Regions from separate parts of the Homo sapiens genome. Here region 1 is linked to region 2. The links are contacts of gene promoters, found by promoter capture Hi-C in blood cells and fetal thymus (Javierre and others, 2016). All regions are on one chromosome and are shown on one strand. Each heading gives the region's core, a stretch centred on a gene start or on the middle of the fragment in contact. The rest is flanking DNA. Distances are from core to core; before and after follow the strand shown.

What was found. The method cuts DNA at HindIII sites, captures the fragments that hold promoters and counts their contacts. A CHiCAGO score of 5 or more calls a contact.
Region 1: a fragment that was not itself captured here is called in contact with the fragment with the promoter of BUB1B in region 2 in 8 of 17 cell types (total B cells, erythroblasts, fetal thymus and 5 more); the score reaches 7.8 in total B cells.

What each region holds. Positions count from the first base shown.
Region 1 is chr15:40,023,816-40,030,554 of GRCh38, forward strand. EIF2AK4 (eukaryotic translation initiation factor 2 alpha kinase 4) reads left to right here. Exons shown (of 39, transcript NM_001013703.4): 33 at 2,162-2,274; 34 at 5,591-5,649; 35 at 6,544-6,641. Among named protein-coding and RNA genes, the nearest start is that of SRP14, 12 kb to the right of the region's middle. The HindIII fragment of the contact is 3,995 bases long and covers 245-4,239 here.
Region 2 is chr15:40,159,153-40,165,999 of GRCh38, forward strand. It overlaps BUB1B (BUB1 mitotic checkpoint serine/threonine kinase B), which reads left to right and starts at 1,917. Exons shown (of 23, transcript NM_001211.6): 1 at 1,917-2,103; 2 at 5,901-6,044. The coding sequence starts at 2,069. RefSeq lists enhancers at 2,051-2,150, 2,171-2,300, 2,308-3,072. The HindIII fragment of the contact is 2,113 bases long and covers 713-2,825 here.

The DNA of each region.
Region 1 (6,739 bases), core at 992-3,491, 140 kb before region 2:
TTATTTTGGATTTAGTTTATTCTTTTTTTAGTTTCTTCAGGTAGAACTTTAGATGAGGTATTGACAAACTACACCTTGGACCAAATTCAGCCCATAGCCTGCTTTTATATGTCTGTGAACTAGAAATTTTTACATTCTTTGTTAAAAAACAACAACAAACAAAGGAGAGTGTGTGACTCCAACTATGTATGGCCCTCAAAGCTTAAAACATTTCCTATCTGGCCCTTTACAGAAAAAAATTTGAAGCTTTGTTATTATACATGTTTAGGATTTTATATCTTCTTGATGAATTGTCTTCATCATTATAAAATATTCCTTATCCCTGGTAATATTTCTTGTTCTGAAATCTTTTGGTTAGTGTTTACGTCACTACCTTTCTCCATCCTTTTATTTTTAACCTGTCTTTTTTTTTTAAGAGATGGGGGTCTCATCATGTTGCCCAGGCTGGCCTTGAACGCCTGGGCTCAAGCAATCTTCTCACCTCAGCCTCCAGCTGGGATACAGGCGTGTGCCACTGCACCTGGCTAACTTATCTATCTTTATATTTAAAGTGAGTTTCTTATACACAGTCACTAGGTTGAGTTTTCCTTTTTTTTTTTTTTTTTTTTTTTGAGATGGATTCTTGCTCTGTCACGCAGGCTGGAGTGCAGTGGTGCAATCTCCACTTGCTGCAACCTCCACCTCCCAAGTTCTCCTACCTCAGCCTCCTGAGTAGCTGGGTTTATAGGCACACACCACCACACCCAGCTAATTTTTGTATTTTTAGTAGAGACAGGGTTTCACCATGTTGGTCAGGCTGGTCTCGAGCTCCTGACCTCATGATCCACCCACCTCGGCTCCCCAAAGTGCTGGGATTAGAGGCGTGAGCCACTGCGCCCAGCCTCCTTTTTTTTTTTTTACTCTGAGAATCCTGGCTTTTTTTTGTTTTTTTTTTTGAGACAGGGTCTCACTCACCTATGTTGGAGTGCAGTGGCGCGATCTCAGCTTACTGGAACCTGTCTCCCAGGATCAAGTGATCCTCCCACCTCAGCCTCCCGAGTAGCTGGGACTACAGGCACGCACCACCATGACTGGCTAATTTTTGTATTTTTAGTAGAGACGAGGTCTCTACTAAATGCCAAATGCCATGAGATTTGCTAAATGCCATGAGAGTCCTACAGATAAAGTTCTCCAAGGGTCCCTCAGGCTGGGAGATTTACATAAGAGGCAGCAGTGAAGTCTTCAGGAAGGTGCTGGGATTTATCCTACCCTCAAGAATTCGTGGTCCTGGAAGGGCCTTTTAGGAAGAGGGAACTGCAAAGGTGATGGTAGTTCTTTTAGTAGTTGTCCCAAAGATAGAGGCAGGCCAGCAGAGAACCATTCTGGTACAACCCTGAATAGTCTATTTTGGGTGAGACAGATGGATCAGAAGCAGAAAATGGTTATAGCTACATCATGGAGAGCCCAAATGCCAACCAAGGAATCTGGTTTTTTTATTTAGCAGTTATTGGGGAGGCCCCGAATGTTTTGAACAGAAGGAGACATCAAAGTTGTGTTTGAGAAAAATTAATCTGCAGGGATGTGTAGCATGGAATAGAGTGAGGGAGAAACCGAGGACAGTGATAGCAGTATAAAGAATATCAAACTAGCCTAGGCCAAGGTTGGGTGCTGGCCAGGGGAGTGAAGATGAAGGGACAGATGCCATAAAAGTGGGATGACAGGACTTGGGTTTAGAAAGGAGAGGGAGGAGTGGTAGATGAAGCTGAGATCTGAGAAACCTTGGTGGCTGACCAGATTTAAAGGGGAAGATGTTAAAGAATCACATGAAATGAGAGCCCATTCATCTTGGCCTTAAAAAAAAAAAATTCTATCATCTGTGATAAACTAGTCCAGACCAGGGTTTCTCAACAGCAGCGCTGTTCACATTTTGGGCCAAATAATTCTCTGTTGTAGGGGGCTGTCCTGTGCATTAACAGCATCTCTGACCGCTACCTACTACATGCCAGTTGCACCATCCAAAAATGTCACCAGACATTGCTAAATGTCCCCTGGGGAGCAAAATTGACCCTGGTTAAGAACCACTGACCCAAACTATTGATTTAGTAGTCTTACTGTGGTGCTCTGAGCTAGTCTTCTGGGTTCAGAAACCTCCAAATGATAGATCCGTTTCATTCTTTTTAAGGTTAAGTCTTTCGAGAAGGAAAGGCAGACAGAGAAGCGTGTGCTGGAGACTGAACTTGTGGACCATGTACTGCAGAAACTGAGGACTAAAGTCACTGATGAAAGGAATGGCAGGTAACTTAGGAAACAAAAGCCGAGAAAAGTGACTTCAGTTACCTATATGGAAACTACGTAAATTTATTTTAAAAGTCAATTTGAGCCAGGTGCTGTGGCTCACACCTGTAATCCCAGCACTTTGGGAGGCCAAGTTTGGGGAATCACTTGAGGCCAGGAATGCAAGACCAGCCTGGGCAACATACCAAGACCCCATTTCTAAAAAAAAAATTTTTTTGATTAGCTGGGCATGGTGGTGCATTCCTATGGTCCCAGCTACTCAGGAGCTGAGGTGGGAGGATTGCTTGAGCCCAGGAGGTCAAGGCTGCAGTGAGCCATGTTCATACCACTGCACTCCAGCCTGGGTGAAGAGAAAGACCCTGTCTAAGAAAAACAAAAAGAAAGAAATCAATTTGATCCTTTTGAGAAACAAAGATAGGTCAGGATTACTTTTAATGAACCATTCTGTTGCTTCTGAATAACTCAATCAGGAGTTTAATTGTATGACCATCTTGTATGAGACTAATCATAGCTTACATTCAACATTTGTTCTTCATACCATTTCCAAGAATACTTTATCATTTTGAAAAGCCTCAGGAGCCAAAATCTATCTGTCATTATCTTATTCAGTCTGCTAATCAGTGAATTTCAATAATATTTTGTCCGTGTACTTTGAAAGATGTAACGTTCTGGGAAAAGATCTCACTTCCTCATGATGGGAGTATCAACCATATGGGTAGGAATTTGACAAAGTAAATTAAAAGCCTTAAAACTAAACATTTTTTTTAAATTGACCCAGCAATTCCACTTTCAGGAATTTATAATAAAAATTATTTTAAAGATGTCTATCAAGGCTCATTTATAACAGCAGTTCTCAAACTTTTTGGTCTTAGAACCCCTTTACACCCTTAAAAATTATTTCAGGATCCCAAAGAACTTTTGTTTATGTGAGTTATATCTATAAATATTAAAACATAAACATTTTAAATATGTTTATTCATTTAAAAATAACAATAACCCCATTACATGCTAACGTAACATATTTCTATTGAAAAACAACTGTTTTCCAAAAGAAAATTAACTTAGTAAGGAAAATGGCATTGTTTAAAATATTTGCACATCTTTTAGTACACTGTTTTACATTTTTGTAATCTATTTTAACACTTTAGTAGAAGAAATGATTCTCCTGTCTGTTTATGTATTCAATCTGTTGTGATACCACAAATCATATAGTCTCTGGAAAACTCGGTTGCACATTTATGAGAGGATGAGAGTGAAAAGGCAATTAATATTTTAAGATTATTATGAAAATAGTTTTGACCTTGCAAGACCCCTTGAAAGGATATGAGGGACCTTCAAGATTCTCTAGACCACACTTGGAGAACCTCATTTCAAAATATACATTGGTAGAAGATTGTTTGAATTATGATAATTTGGTGAAATATTGTGCAGCCTTTAAAAATGATGATTCTACTAAAGCTGAGTTCATTGACATGGAAAGATGTCCATAAATAGGATGTTTAATATAATCCCATTTTGTGGCCGGGCGTGGTGGCTCACGCCTGTAATCCCAGCACTTTGGGAGGCCGAGAAGGGGGGATCATGAGGTCAGGAGATCGAGATCATCCTGGCTAACACGGTGAAACCCCGTCTCTACTAAAGATACAAAAAAATTAGCGGGGCATGGTGGCGGGCACCTGTAGTCCCAGCTACTCGGGAGGCTGAGGCAGGAGAATGGCGTGAACCCGGGAGGTGGAGCTTGCAGTGAGTGGAGATCGTGGACTGCACTCCAGCCTGGGTGACAGAGCGAGACTCTGTCTCAAAAAAAAAAACAAAAAGAACAACAACAACAACGAATATATAATCCCATTTTGTTTTAAACAAAATATACAACCTATACATAAAAAAATGTCTAGAAGAACGTACCAAATTTTTAATTGTAGTTTTGGTTAGTGGGATTACAAGGGATCTTAAATTACTTTGTTAAGCTTTTCTATATATTTGCAACTCCTTTTTTTTTTTTTGAGATAGAGTCTCACTTTTGCCGAGGCTGAAGTGCAGTGGTGTATACATGACTCACTATAGCCTTAACCTCCCAGGCTCAGGTGATCCTTCCTTCTTGGCCTCCTGAGTAGCTGGGACCGTAGTCATGTACCACCTTGTCCAGCTAATTTTTTTAAATTATTTGTAGAGACAGGATCTCCCTATGTTGCCCAGGCTGGTCTCCAACTCCTGGACTCAAGCAACTCTCCCGCCTCAAGAAATTCTTATATGTATGCTCATTATCAGAAAATACCACACGGTAATTTTTCTGGCTTACATCAGCAATTCTCAACCAACAATGATTTTGCTTCCCAGGGCACATCTGGCAATGTATGGAGACATTTTTGGTTGTCACAACTGGGGAGTTTTACTGGTATCTAGGAGAGGCCAGGGATACTGTGAAAACATCCTAAAGGGTACAGGACTACTACCCCCCAACAGAGAATTTTCTGGCCTAAAATTTCAGTAGTACCAAGATTGGGAAATCCTGGCTTACAGAAAACAAACCTTGCTCTGTTCTTCTCATGCCCCCACCCCTTCTTATTTGCACCTAGCCTTAATAAATTCACCATTAGGTGTTTCTGAGGGAACATAATGTTCTGGAAATCACCAGTATTGGAATTATAGATCTAAATCAAAGACAGAGGTTTAGAAGAGAAACCAAGAAATAGCCAAGTAGTGAGTATGGGGGAACATTACCAAGACACTTAAAAGGCTACATGGGATTTAGTTTTAGCAGGGAAAGGTTCAAAGTTTTTCCTCCAGCAAATGATTATTTCCCTGTTTTCCCAAGATAGAGTGCTGTTGTCTCTCTCAAAGGCTATAAATTAATTCACAGCATTTGAAAGAACATCCATTCACGGCTTTTTAAAGAATATCTTTATTTACCAAATGTTCTCCTGTGGGTGGTTGCCAAGGCTACTGCCATAATGAAGGTGGGGCTGCTGTTATTCATGTTTCCTTGTATTATGAGGGGGGCGGAAAGAACACCCATTATATTTCATTGAAATCAGCTTATTGTGTGGATCCAGGATTTCACGCCCAGCTGAATAAATCAGAATGTTTTCCTTAGGCATTTGTTAACTTAAAAAGACATCCTTTATAATTTTTACTTGCTCTTGACCAAAGCATAACTAAATGCAAATTTTTTGTTTTTGTTTTTCCACCAATAACCAAGAAGATGTTTTTATATTTAATGGAAAAGTGGCTCACTATACATGTAGTTCACTGTAAGTTATGTGTTGCTTGTGCCTTATTGACTGTTCTTTAATTGTTTTTGTTTGCTTGTTTTTAGAGAAGCTTCCGATAATCTTGCAGTGCAAAATCTGAAGGGGTCATTTTCTAATGCTTCAGGTATAATTACTAATTATAATCTGAACATAATGATGCTTATATGTTTGCTCTAAGCACTTATTACTGTAGCTAACTGCTTGTGACACTGGAAATCTATTTTTAAAATAACATATACGCAATAAATTGTACCACATGGGATGCATCCCTATGCTTTGAAATCCACATCCTAGAAAAGGATAAAACAACTGGAATTTAGCTGACTCTTCTACTCTATCTCTTATTTTTACAAGTGATTTAATCTTCCTTTTACTCAATTTATTGTACAAGTGAAATGTGTATAATTTTCCTGGAGATTTTCCTCATACAGAGGATTGAAGGAAGTATTTTGAAATCCCTTGAAGAAGGACACTATACACATTTTGTTTTCGTGAAAGCCAAGAGGGCACAGTGGTGATAGTTATGCCTTTGCTTTCATCACCTCTAGCAACCTTACTTCTTTTTTAAAGAAGTGTTCCAATTAAGGCCATGAGAAGACATATTTGGCTTTTAACAGAATTGAGTCTTTCCCATTCTCTTCTGTTAGCACTAACTTTGTGTTGCCATCAGATTTCCAATTCTTGCAGGAATTTAAAGAAGTATGCAGGTTTGGTGATATTCAGCTTGATTTTCTTAGGCCCCTGAGGTTTTGATGACTCCTGTTGCCTCCCTGCCCCTTCCACCACCCCCCAACCCCTGCCTGAGGAGAGAAGCATCAAAACTGCTGGGTGTTGGGGTTCTGGGCTCCTCACCTATCCGGTGCAGATGGTTGTAGGGATAGAAAACACAGCCCAGTCGTGATCTAGCCCTTAGAATCACGACAGGATGTCTACTAATAAACTCTGCCATCTCTCTGTAGTATGTTGTAGAAAGTGGGACCAGATAAGGCCATAAATTCTGAAACTCTCTTGGTCTCAGGTTTGTTTGAAATCCATGGAGCAACAGTGGTTCCCATTGTGAGTGTGCTAGCCCCGGAGAAGCTGTCAGCCAGCACTAGGAGGCGCTATGAAACTCAGGTACACTGGGTCAGGGTTTCTTTGGCTTTCTAATATGAGTTACAGAAGAGAAAAACAACAACAGGAAAGGAAAATAAGATAAACATGGAATTTCTTGG
Region 2 (6,847 bases), core at 667-3,166:
CTTGCTTGCTGGGAGCTCCACCCATCAGTTCATGGGACATCCCTAAAAACTCATTTTCCAAATTAAACCACAGAGTACCTTCTGTCATACATTTTGGAGTTTTGTTTTACCTACCTCCTTCTTTTCCCGTAGTGAAACAAGCAAGGGGTTTAGCCTGAATGCATTCTACATCGTAGCAGAGTTTATGGGGAATCCGACTAGGTTATAGGAAAGACTGAGATCAAAAGACCAAACACTACGTTTCCAAGATTGTTTGTAGGAAATAGTCAAAATTGAGAAGCTGTAGATATGAACAGGACACCCTGTTGAAAGAAAATGAAGTGCTAGGCCAGTACTGACATAAGGTAAGAGATAAAATGAGCCAGTGAGAGAATCCCACGCACCACACCTCATATGATCCAGGAAAGCTTCCTGGATGTGGAGGACTTTGATGTAAAGAGTAACCAAAATTTCCTATGAGGAATCACCCCTTCCCCTCTCTCAGTCCCAAGGTGAAACACATGACTTGGTTCTGAACAATCAAAGCCCTGAATCCACTATCCCCAGTGACTGTTTGGGAGGAAGGGGTTAAGCAGGGTGACTCCTAAGTCTGAATTTGAACCTGTAAGGATAAAGTCGTGAATCTGTTACCCAATGGAGAATGACAATAAGCCAACAACAAGAGTAGAGGCGAGAAATGGAGAGAGGCCCAGTCCACATGAGTCCTGGGTTAAGCTTTATCTGAAGTCTTTTATATATAAAAGACAGTAAATTCCCTTTTCTGAGTAGGCCGATTTAAGTTGGATTTCTACTTCTTTGGAATCAAGAGTCCTGATGATTCAGAGGAAAGAAGGACTTATATAACATGAACAAAGACAGAAAGCTGGGAACTAAGAACCAGAGGGTAGTGGACAGTATCCTCAGCATCTGCCTCTGGGAAGTGCCACCTCTCTGACCATCCCCACAGTCATAAAGGAGAACTCCCCTGTACCTGGGCTTTCTTAAATGACCCTGTTCCTTCCTCAAGGTGGCTAATGCCTGTAATCGCAGCTACTGCGGAGGCTGAGGTGGGAGGATCACTTGACCCCGGGAGTTGGAGGCTGGAATGCAGTAGCCCCATGATGGGGCTACTGCACTCCAGCCTGGGCAACAGAGCAAGAAGAAGACCCTGTCTCTAAAACAAAACCAACCAACCAAACAAACAAAAAGACTCTACTCCCCTGGTCACATCTGAGCTATCACAATTTCTTCCTCAGAAAATTGAAATTGCAACAAACAGTTTAATGTCAGTCAAGGCTAGTCCCCTGAAGGGGAAAAGAGGTAACACCTTGGGAACCATAGCATGGCTGTGTTTACTGCTTGTGGACTGAGCAGAAGAGAAAGCAAGACAGTATCATCACTTTATAGATGAGGAAAACTGATGGTCAGAAAGATTATGTAGCTTGCCTAAGGTTGCACATTTGGTATGATTTTACAGAACTAGAATCCAGCTTTTTGAATTCAAGGGTGGGGCAGGAAACAGCTAGGTCAGTGGCCTAAGAACTCCGGACGGGTGAGATTTGGGGCAGACAGCAGGGGTAGTCACCCTACAAGAGTCACGCCAAGTGCAAGCACTCAGAGACATCTCCCAACACTCAAAACAGCAAAGAAGTTCTGGTGCTTTAAGTGTTCCTCGCTCGGCTCAGAGACTCGGCTTCGAGCCGCGACTCAAGACAGCACCTGGGGGTATTTGTTTTGCCTAAGCCTGCTGCACTTCCACGGCCATTGAATCCCAAAAACTACAATTCCCATTATGCACCGCGAGTTCGCGGACTAAACAGGCATAAACTACAAGCCCCAGAATGCCTTGGGCGAGACGCGAGAGCACGGAGGAGCGGAGGGGCGTGGCCACGTCGACCGCGCGGGACCGTTAAATTTGAAACTTGGCGGCTAGGGGTGTGGGCTTGAGGTGGCCGGTTTGTTAGGGAGTCGTGTACGTGCCTTGGTCGCTTCTGTAGCTCCGAGGGCAGGTTGCGGAAGAAAGCCCAGGCGGTCTGTGGCCCAGAGGAAAGGCCTGCAGCAGGACGAGGACCTGAGCCAGGAATGCAGGATGGCGGCGGTGAAGAAGGAAGGGGGTGCTCTGAGGTAGGTACGGGAGAAAGCTGCTGGGGGCTGGGCCTGAGAGGACACGGCCTGGTAGGTAATAGAAGGCTCCGCTCGGAGCAGTCGAGGGGGAGATCGGCACCGTCAGAACAGACCCCACCGGAGCCTCCTTCCTTTTGGAGTAGAATGCCGGAGGTGGAGGTGAAAACGCAGTGGACTGAGGGCACGTGCGAATCCTGCCGCATCCAGCTTCAAAGCGAAGAAGGCTGCGGGACCCCAGCGGAACAAAGAGTTTGGAAGTTGCAATGTTGTCTGTTTGTAACTCAGCTCAGCCACCTGCTAGTTGTTTGACCTTGGGCAAATCGTTTGTATGGAAAATGCTGATGTTAATGCTGCCTTACGTGGTTCTGGGGGAATTCAAAGTATTTGTTAAGTAACTGCTTCCAAATAAGCGCTCAACAAATGGCAGGTGCTATGCCAATAGCACAGAGATCTGAAAGCCTTTAGCCAATATCATAGAGATCTAAATTATGCCAATAACATAGAGATCTAAAAGCCTTTTTCTGCATGTTTGCGGCTTTTCCTTGTATTAAAAAAACTATATTGCAGTTCTAGGTTGGAAATCTGTATGTGTTTTCACTGTGGTGCCCGCAATACCTAGATAAGTGCTATGTCATGGGCTCTTTCATTCATGTAACAAGTATTTTTTTGGCTAAGCTCTGAGTGCAGCAAATATACAGACACAAAAATCTCAACCCTCATGAAGCTTAAGTTCTGGCATGGGATGAAGGTGGGGGAGTCAGACAATAAAGACAAACTGTTAGGTGGAGATGTGGTCAGTACTAAAAAAAATAATAAAGCAACTGGGTGTAGTGAATATTGGGGGTGGGGATTGGTGCAATTTAACTTGAACACTGGAGTCTCACTGAGGAGATGTCACTTTGGTCAAGACTTGAAGGAATCTCAAAAGCTAGAGGTTCTATATCTGAGGAGAGTACAAAGGCTGAGGGTGAGAGCTAGGGGAGGAAGTTGCACCTGGCATGTCCAAGGCCATTGTCACTGGAGCAGAATTAACTAGAAGAGTAAAAGGATATTATGTAAAAATGGTGAAGATGCAGATTGTAAGGACTTAGCTTTTACTCTAGTTGTAATCAAAAGTCATTGGAAGGTTTTGAGCAAAGGAAAGACATAATCTGACTTGGGTTTAAATGGGGTCACTTTGGCTGTAGTGTTGAATACACTAAAGGCAGCAAAGGATGGAAGCAAGGGACACCAGTTAAGAGGTTATTGAAATAATTCAGCTCAAAAGTGAGTTGAGCCAGGTGGAAAACAGTGGAGATGATGATAAGTGGTTGATTTCTGTATATATTTTGAAGGTAGAACCAGTAGGACTTGCTGACTGACTGAGGGGTATGAGAAGGGCATCAAAGTTGGCACTAAGATTTTTGGCTTGGGTAACTGAAGAATGGGATTGCCATTTATTTGAGAAAGAGGAAGACTGTGGGAGGAGCAGGTCTGGGAGGAAGTGGGGGCAGTCTTAGCTCAATTTGGGATATTTAACTGAGATAGTGTAATTCACTATTTTTAAGAGCAAGAGAAGAAAGTTCAGATGAATTCAACAAACAGGGCATAATAGTGTTATATCTCGTATTAGATCATGGGCATACAAAAATAAATGGCATAGCCCTTACCTTTACAGAGTTCACACAATATAGAGCAGGTCCTGGTATAACATCGTTTCGTTATAATGTTGATGAGAAAAAAAATCAATTCATTGCGGGGCTGCTGTGTATGTGGAGTTTTCATGTTTTCCGCATGTCTGCATGGGTTTCCTTAGGTACTCCAGTTTCCTTCTACATCCCAAAGATGTGCCTGTTAATTGGCGTGTCTAAATGATCCCAGTCTGAATGGGTGTGAATGTGATGCTCCCTGTGATGGAGTGGTGTCCTGTCCAGGGTTGGTTCCTCTCTGAGTTGCTGAGATGGGCTCTGGCCACCCTCAACCCCGAACTAGAATAAGTGAGTTGGAAAATGAATGAAGGAATGAATACAAATTACTGTAAAATAAAAATCTGTAAAGGCTGGGAGCGGTGGCTCACACCTGTAATCCCAGCACTTCGGGAGGCTGAGGCAACAGGATTGCTTAAGCTCAGCGGTTCAAGACCAGCCTGGGCAACATAGTAAGGCCTGTCTCTATTTAAAAAGTTTATATAAAGTGTGTATGATAATCATATAAATGCATGACAATAAACAATGCCTTATGAAAGTGCCCAGCATGCCCACTATAGTGTTACTATTTGTTTTTTGAACTTTGTGGTGGTAGGAGGTACTTCTTGAAATTTTCACTCTCAAACATTTATTCCTTGAGTTAACCCACCAACACTATGACTGCAGTCATTCACTGATTCGCCAAAAATTGGGTAAATGATTATTTTTTGTTTTCATTAAATGTTCTTAAGTGTACGGATAGCTCACATTTATTTCAATATTTAGTATTAAAAATGTTTGTTTCGAGTCTTTATTCAGAAGTTTGGTGACGTTTTTGTGACCAGAAATATGCCATAGGAACTTAACTTTTGTTTATGTCGATCAGCCTGTGGTAAAATTGGTTTTGTTACATGTCATTTTGATTAAAGTCATAGTTTCCAAGAAGCTGTCTCCAACGAGTTTTCAGTGCTCATCTAGACTGAAGTCACATATAACTTTCACTCTATTTCAAAGATTAGTGCCAATGTGTCTCTCTTTTTGTTTTAAGTCCAGAGGTAATGTCTCTTAGAAATAGTCTTCTATCTAACCATTGCAGGGCTCTGAATTGCAGAATACGTAATGGGAATTACCTCCAAAACGTTTCGGGGGTTTTCTCAGTAGGCTTGCTAGAATTGGGTGTGAGGATGCAGGGAATTGTGACTAGTAAACTGTGTTTGTTTGCTTCTGCTTTTAGCTACTTATATGTACAAACTTCAGTTTTGAATCATCATTGAAACATGGGACATTAGTCTCACCCACACTTTGCTAATTTTAATGTTTTTTTTTTGAGACAGGGTCTTGCTCTGTTGCCCAGGCTGCAGTGCAGTGGTGTGATCATGGCTCACTGCAGCTTCGACCCCTGAACCCAAGCAATGCTCCCACCTCAGTCTTCTAAGTAGCCACGACCATGGGCGTGTACCACCACGCCTGGCTAATTTTTCACTTTTTGTAGAGATGGGGGTCTTCCTATGTTGCCCAGGGTGGTGTTGAACTCCTGGGCTCAAGCACTTCTCCTGACTCAGCCTCCCAAAGTGGTAGGATTACAGGCATGAGCTACCACATCCGGCACTAATTTTAAATTAAACTAGATGATGCATTCAATGGTAGGCATAGAATTACTTGTTGCCTTTTTGTCTACTTTGCCAAATTTATAACACTTTTGTTCCCTTCTTTTCTTTCTGCCTTAAGCCCTATTCATTTTTCTTTTTTTTTTTTTTTTTAAAGAAAGAGGCAGGGTCTTGCTATGTTGCCCAGGCTGGTATCAAACTCCTGGCTCAAGAAATCCTCCCACTTCGGCCTCACAAAGTGGTGGGATTACAGGTGTGAGCCACCGCACATAGCCATGCCCTATTCTTATAGTACTGTCTACGATATCCTTGCCAAGTTGTCTTCTATCAGGCAATACTGTAGCCATAAACTTGAAAAACAGCTAACAAAGAAGCTTAGGCATATAATAATAATAATAATTATGTGTCAGTCCACTATATTCAACCCAAGACCATGAATAATCACCTTTCGGAAGACATTTACAATAATCTAGTGCTATAATAGTCAATGTTGGTATGAGATTTACATTTGTTTCCTTCTTCACAGTGAAGCCATGTCCCTGGAGGGAGATGAATGGGAACTGAGTAAAGAAAATGTACAACCTTTAAGGCAAGGGCGGATCATGTCCACGCTTCAGGGAGCACTGGCACAAGAATCTGCCTGTAACAATACTCTTCAGCAGCAGAAACGGTGTGTAGAATGGCTGAGTCTCAACCTGTCGTCATTCATCCTAAATGTTGTAGATAACGTGGGTGTGGATCCATGAGAGATGGCATAATGAGTACTTTTCAAAAATTGGTAGTATGAGAATCTGTTCTCTACCTGCTTTCGTATCACATGACAGCTATCTGAAGATGTCCTCAGGTATAATTAAGAACAAGGGCTATAGGATTTCATTTCACTGTGGTGCAGCGAAACTCTTTTTATCAATAGAAATACATTTTATACAGGGGGCAGTGATAAGCATAGTAAAGCAAGTATTATATTGCAATGCTTCCCAAAAGTATTATGTTAGGAACTTATTTTTGAGAGTATGACAAAAAAAGAAGTGGTCTCCAAAGACATGTAAACCTCAGAACAATTGAATTTATACCAGAAAGTTCTCAATAATTTTAACAAACTCTGGATAAATAAAAGCTGAAAAATACTCTTATGTTATTCAAATGGACCTGTGGATCTCCTTTAACTAATACATGTTTTGATAAATATGCTTTTTAAAAAAAAAGGTAAATCAGAGTATCAGTTTCTACCTTCAATCTCTGACAAAAAGAAATACTGCCATTACTGGCAAAATATCATAATTTGGGATTATAATGCAATGACTATTCTTATTCATCTCTTTGGATTTTTTTTTTTTTTTTAATATGACAGGGTCTCCCTCTATCACCCAGGTTGGAGTACAGTGGCCTGATTTCAGCTCACTGCAACCTCTGCCTCCCGGTTTTAAGTGATTCTCCCACCTCAGCCTCCCAAATAGCTGGGATTACAGGCGT